Linked DNA regions of Homo sapiens: region 1 is linked to region 2. The links are contacts of gene promoters, found by promoter capture Hi-C in human tissues and cell types (Jung and others, 2019). All regions are on one chromosome and are shown on one strand. The core of a region is centred on a gene start or on the middle of the fragment in contact, and the rest is flanking DNA. Distances in the headings are between cores, read along the strand shown. Region 1 has its middle 30 kb from the start of SLC52A3. Region 2 holds the start of RSPO4 (R-spondin 4).

Region 1 (2,890 bases), core at 28-2,527, 200 kb before region 2:
CTACATCAGGGGACCCATTTTGGGCCCCAGGCCATGTGTGACGCAGTTCTCAGAGTTTATGGTTGTATAGGAATTTATACCCTGGCAAAACAGGTTACAGATAGTTGCTTAGTATGTAAGAAAACTAATAGACATACTATAAAATGATTACCTCTCAGGGGAAGGAATCCAGGCTAAAGGCCATTCCAAAGTATCTAAGTTGATTACACAGAAATGCCTCTGATAGATCATCTAAAATATTTACTAGTGATAGTAGGCCACCTCACTCCCTGGGTCGAAGCTATCCCCTTTTCAAATGCAACAGCCAGTAATGTAGTTGAGGCCCTAATTGAAAATATAGTACCCAGGTTTCGACTAACGGAAAATACTGACTCAGACAATGGAACTCATTTCACCACACACATTATTAAAAAGCTATTCCAAAATATTAGACATTAGATGGGAACACCATACTCCCTGGCACCCACCCTCATCAGGGAGAGTAGAAAGAATGAATTAGACTCTAAAGAACCACTTAACCAAATTAGTCTTACAGACTTGGTTGCCATGGACCAAGTATCTTCCTATCACCCTGCTGAGAATTTGAACTGCACCATGGAAAGACATTGGTCTTTCTCCTTATGAGATGCTCTATGGATTACCTTATTTGCACTCCACTGTTGATATTCCTACCTTTGAAACAAATGATCAATTCCTTAAAAATTATATACTTGGTCTATGTTCTACTTTCTCCTCTCTTAAAACTAAAGGTCTATTAGCACAGGCACCACCCTTGGAGTTCCTGGTGCATCAACATTAGCCTGGGGATCACGTCCTCATCAAGAGCTGGAAAGAGGAGAAGCTTGAGCCAGCCTGGGAAGGTCCTTACTTGGTGCTCCTAACTACTGAAACCGCAGTCCGCACAGCAGAGAGAGGATGGACTCACCACACCCAAGTCAAGAAAGCACCGCCCCCTCCAGAGTCGTGGGCCATAGTCCCAGGGGAAAACCCTACTAAACTAAAGCTAAGAAGAATTTAACTCCCTTTCATCTATTCTATTACTCTTTTTTCTTTCCTCACTCTATTGCTGACCATATAGTTATTAACATAACCAAGTCAATTTCACCTCAACTATTGCATTTGATGCTTGCCTTGTTATATCCTGTGGGGATTTGTCAAGCCAAAGAAAGCTCTCTACTTCAGATACCTCTGTCCCTCCTGGCTCTCCTCAGACTAGGCATTAGTGAATCGGGACCATTTAATCTGGGGAGATTTCTATAAAGATCCCAGTGGCAACCAGGAGTCTTCCCCCAGTGATGTAGAGCTTTTAAGCCATAGTTGGTCCAAAGTTCTGTGGACCATTAAAGAGCAAGGATGGATTGCCCCAACCAGTTTTTGTAATTTCCTAAATTCATACATTCGTTTTACTAAAGGGACAGTGCCCACTAACTCTCAGCTAAACCAGTGCAACCCTATACAGGTTATTATTTTGAGCCCACAAAATTCTTCCTCTTTTCTAAGCTGGTTCCCTTCTTTAAGCCAGTTTTATGGTATGGGGGCTGAAGTTTCAGGGACAGACCCTATTGGATTCTTTGAAATGCACTTCTTTGATCCCCTGCTGTCTGCACCTGCCTCTGAGCCTTTTTCCAAAACCTCTCACAACGGAACCATTGTTCCTCCTCTATCTAACGACAAGGCCAAGATAGCGATGGTAGAAGTTAAAGACTTAAAACAAACTGGCAATTGAGACAGGATACCAAGATGTAAATGTTTGGTTGGAATGGATCAAATATTTCATCCACACGTTAAACAAAAGCAATTGTTATGCTTGTGCGCACAGCAGGCCAGAGGCCCAGATTGTCCCCTTTCCACTAGGGTGGTCCTCCAGTTGACCGGGCATGGGCTGCATGGTAGCTCTTTTCCAGGATTCTATAGCCTGGGGTAAGAAGTTGTGCCAAGCTCTCTCTCTGCTATATCCCGAAGTTTGACACCTTGTGGGTCAGCCCCCAAGGGCCATCCAGCTTCCATCTCCCAACACTAAGTTTACTTCGTGTCTCTCATGACAGGGAGGAAACTTAGTGTTCCTTGGAGACCTGAAGGGATGCAGTGAGCTTAAGAACTTTTGGCCAGGCGCGGTGGCTCATGCCTGTAATCCCAGCACTTTGGGAGGCCGAGGCAGGCGGATCACAAGGTCAGGAAATCGAGACCATCCTGGCTAACACGATGAAACCCCATCTCTACTAAAAATACAAAAAAAAAAAAAAAAATTAGCCAGGCGTGGCGTCATGCGCCTGTAGTCTCAGCTACTTGGGAGGCTGAGGCAGGAGGATGGCGTGAACCCAGGAGGTGGAGCTTGCAGTGAGCCGAGATCGTGCCACTGCACTCCAGCCTGGGCGACAGAGCGAGACTCTCTCTCGAAAAAAAAGAAAAAGAACTTTCAAAAGCTTACCAATCAGCCAGCCCTTGTTCATCCCCTAGCAGAAGTGTGGTGGTATTGTGGTGGACCTTTACTGGACACTCTGCCGAATAACTGGATTGGCACTTGTGCTTTAGTCCAACTAGCTATCCCTTTCACCCTGGCATTTCATCAACCAGAGGAAGGAAAAATAAGACATCGTAAAGTGAGAGAAGCCCCTTATGGGTCTTTAGACTCTCACTTCTGTTTAGACGCAATTGGGGTCCCATGGAGAATACAAGATCAATTTAAAGTCTGGAATCAAATAGCTGCAGGATTTGAGTCAATATCTTGGTGGGTGACAATTAATAAACATGTAGATTGGATAAACTACATCTATTACAACCAACAGTGATTTAGTAACTACACTAGAGATACTGTTAGAGGAATAGCTGAGCAAGTAGGGGCTACAGGCCAGATGGCTTGGGAAAATAGGACAGCCTTAGACATGATATT
Region 2 (2,828 bases), core at 329-2,828:
ACAAAGGCCATTCACAAAGGAGTGTCCCCATAGAGTCCCAAACTCACCCCAGCTCAGCTGAAAACCACACGCCTCTCTAGTCCCTTGTCCCACTGTCACAGCAAGAACTGGAGCCTCTTGGGCCACAGTCTCCCCAACCCCATCCAATCCCACCTCCCAATTCTCCCACAGCCTCTGTCTGCTTCCTGCTCCGTTCCAGGAGTGACTGTGTCGCTGTAGGGCTTTCACACAAATGGAAGGCCCCAGAGGGCAACCCATCCTCTCTCATTTTCCTTCCCCTTTATCCTTGCTCAGACCCGATGCCAGGGCTGGAAAGAGAGAAGACACCAGCTGGACAATTCAGCAGTTATTTAAACCAGTCTGAGCCTTGGAATCCCAGGCTTTATTAAAACTGGACGACCCCTATGTCATGAGCATATAGTTGGGATTTGATGAGCTAGGACATGAAAAACCCGTGGCATAGTGGCTGGCATTCGGCTGCTGATCTTAAGAGTGGCACCTGGAGGCCAAAGGGCTGCCCAGCTCAGGCAGGCGATTTGCTCACTTGCTCACCCGCTTACCCTTCTCTGAGGCACAGGCTCTACCAACTCCTGCTCTGCAGGGACAGCCTCCAACCCACCTTCTGAGGATGTTCTGACTCTCACAGCGAGGCTGTGGCATAGGACTCCCAGGTGAGAGCGCATGCGGCCCCTGGTACATTTATAATCTGAACCTTGGCTCATCTTCCTAGTGGCCTGAGAGGTGAAGATGGAAAAGCTGAGGCTCTCTGAGGGGCTGGACTTCTTCTAGGTCATCCCCTATTAGAATAAGTGAACCTGAACTCAGGTCTCAGGTCTGGCTGAACTCAACATAGGGGGGCCATGGAGGATCACTGCCCTCTGGGAGGTGACACCAGGAGTCAGGGTGAGTGATGAGGCTGGGACTGGGGCCTCTGGACGCCCAGCCCAAGGCTCTCTATGTCACTTCCTGGCCGAGCATGGATGCTTGGAATGGCTTCTACGCCACTGAGTCTGTCTCCTAGTCCCTGTGCCCCGCAGGCTGGCTCTTGAGTCTTCTGTCTCTGCACGAAGCCATCCTCCTTTCTGCTGACCATGCGGCTACTACAGAGAGCCCTGCTACCCTCTCCCTTCTGGGTGAGTCTCCTTGGCCCACCCTACTCAATGGCTCGCTCACTGGGTGCCCTGGAGCCTCAATCTCCCCATCTTAAGTGAGGTTGAGACTCGTCTGGAGGAGCGAAGGACCCAGGGCGCCAGGCACCAGGCAGATGCCCCCAGAGCCGCCGCCCCCGGTCCTCCGGCCCCCGGTCTGCCCCGCAGCGCCTGCCCGGCCGCCCTGCCCAGCCACCCCTTGTACCTTGCTTCTTCCTTCGGTTCAGGGCGAGCATGTCCACGGCGTGGGCGACGAGCAGGAGCAGGCAGAGTGGCGCCCGCATCTGGGCAGCCGGATCCGGGCTGGCGCTCCCCAGGCGGCCCGACGGCCCAAGGGCCCCACGTCCCGGCGGCGGCACGGCGGGCGCGGGGGCTGCTGTGGGCGCGCCGGGCGCATCCGCCAGGCGCGGGTCGGTCCGGCCGCCAGGTCTAGTGAGGGCGTTGGCGGAGCCGGGGCACTGCCCTGGCGGGGAGGAGCCGGCGCGGCGGGGGCGGCGCGTTAACCAGCTCGGGGCCCGGGAGCGCGCGCGGGGAGGGGGCGGGGGTCACCCGGGTCGGGGCCCTCGAGTTCGATCTGTCCCGCAGCCGGCGGTCTTGCGTCTTTCCCGCCCCCAGCACTGCCCCCGAGCACGTGCACGTGCCCACCGCCAGCCACAGGTACGCACGCGCGCGCAGGTACAGATGCGCGGACACCCGGAGACCCGTACGGTCCCCCGCGCCCTCTCAGCGCCTGTGATTTTCTTTCCCTCCCCCCAGTCCCCTTTCTCTGTCTGTTCCTCCTTCTGGCCCTTAAGGACAACTCCTTGTCTCCTGCTTTCTCGGTCTTTCCGCGGCCCGCGCTCCCCTGCTCTGCCCCCGACCCTGCCTGGCTGTTCCTGCATCCTTTACTCTTGCCGGCCGTCTCTCTCTCAGGCTCACTGTCTGTGTCCTCCTGGCTGGGCCTCTGGTTCTCCCTTTTCTCTGTCTCTCCCTTCAACCCCATCTCTCCCCTTCTCCCCTCCTGCAGGGTGGGGTGTTTGCGGGGCTCCTGCTGCCTGGCTTTCTCTTTTTCTCTCTACTCTGTCTCATTCTTTTAACAGAGGCCTGAGCCCCTTCTGGCCACTAACCCTGAATGTTTCCTGTGCAGTCTGCGGGGATCATCTACTCCGACTCAAAGTGACCAGCACCTCATAAATCCACTTGTGACAGGGCTGGGGACCTGGACTGTGTTTCCTCCAACCTTATCACCAGGACTGGGAGCAGCTGGTTCAAGTTTAACCCTTTCAGAGCAAAATTCCTCCTTCAACCCGACAGCATGCTCACCTCTCCTGTCACTATAACCACCAAAAACAACAACAATCATGCTAGCTATCATTTGTGAGGCATATATGGTGGGCATTGCTAAGAACTTGACATATACTAGAGTCTTCAAAACAACCCAATGGTTTGGGTTTGTATTCTGAGTAATTCCACTTTTCTGGGGAGCAAAGGGAAGCTCAGAGAGGCCAAGTGACTTGCCCAAGGCCACACAGCAGGTCAGTGGCCATTCTGGTCCAGTGCCTGCCCCTCTTAGCCACTTCTCAGGCACAGACTCATCAGAATGGAAGAGGCCTTGGAGGGAGGCCTAGAGAAACTTACAGTTGACACTCTCTTGCTGAACAATTGTCCTTCCTTTTTCTTTTCTTTTTTTTTTCTTTTTTT

What was found. Contacts are between HindIII fragments. The study calls those that stand out against the background at their distance.
Region 1: a contact is called between a fragment that was not itself captured here and the fragment with the promoter of RSPO4 in region 2, in 2 of the 25 tissues and cell types used here (dorsolateral prefrontal cortex and spleen).

Annotation. Positions count from the first base shown.
Region 1 is chr20:797,049-799,938 of GRCh38, forward strand. No RefSeq gene overlaps it. Among named protein-coding and RNA genes, the nearest start is that of SLC52A3, 30 kb to the left of the region's middle. The HindIII fragment of the contact is 3,114 bases long and covers 1-2,834 here.
Region 2 is chr20:1,000,733-1,003,560 of GRCh38, forward strand. It overlaps RSPO4 (R-spondin 4), which reads right to left and starts at 1,579. Exons shown (of 5, transcript NM_001029871.4): 1 at 1,354-1,579. The coding sequence starts at 1,432. The HindIII fragment of the contact is 18,767 bases long and covers 1-2,828 here.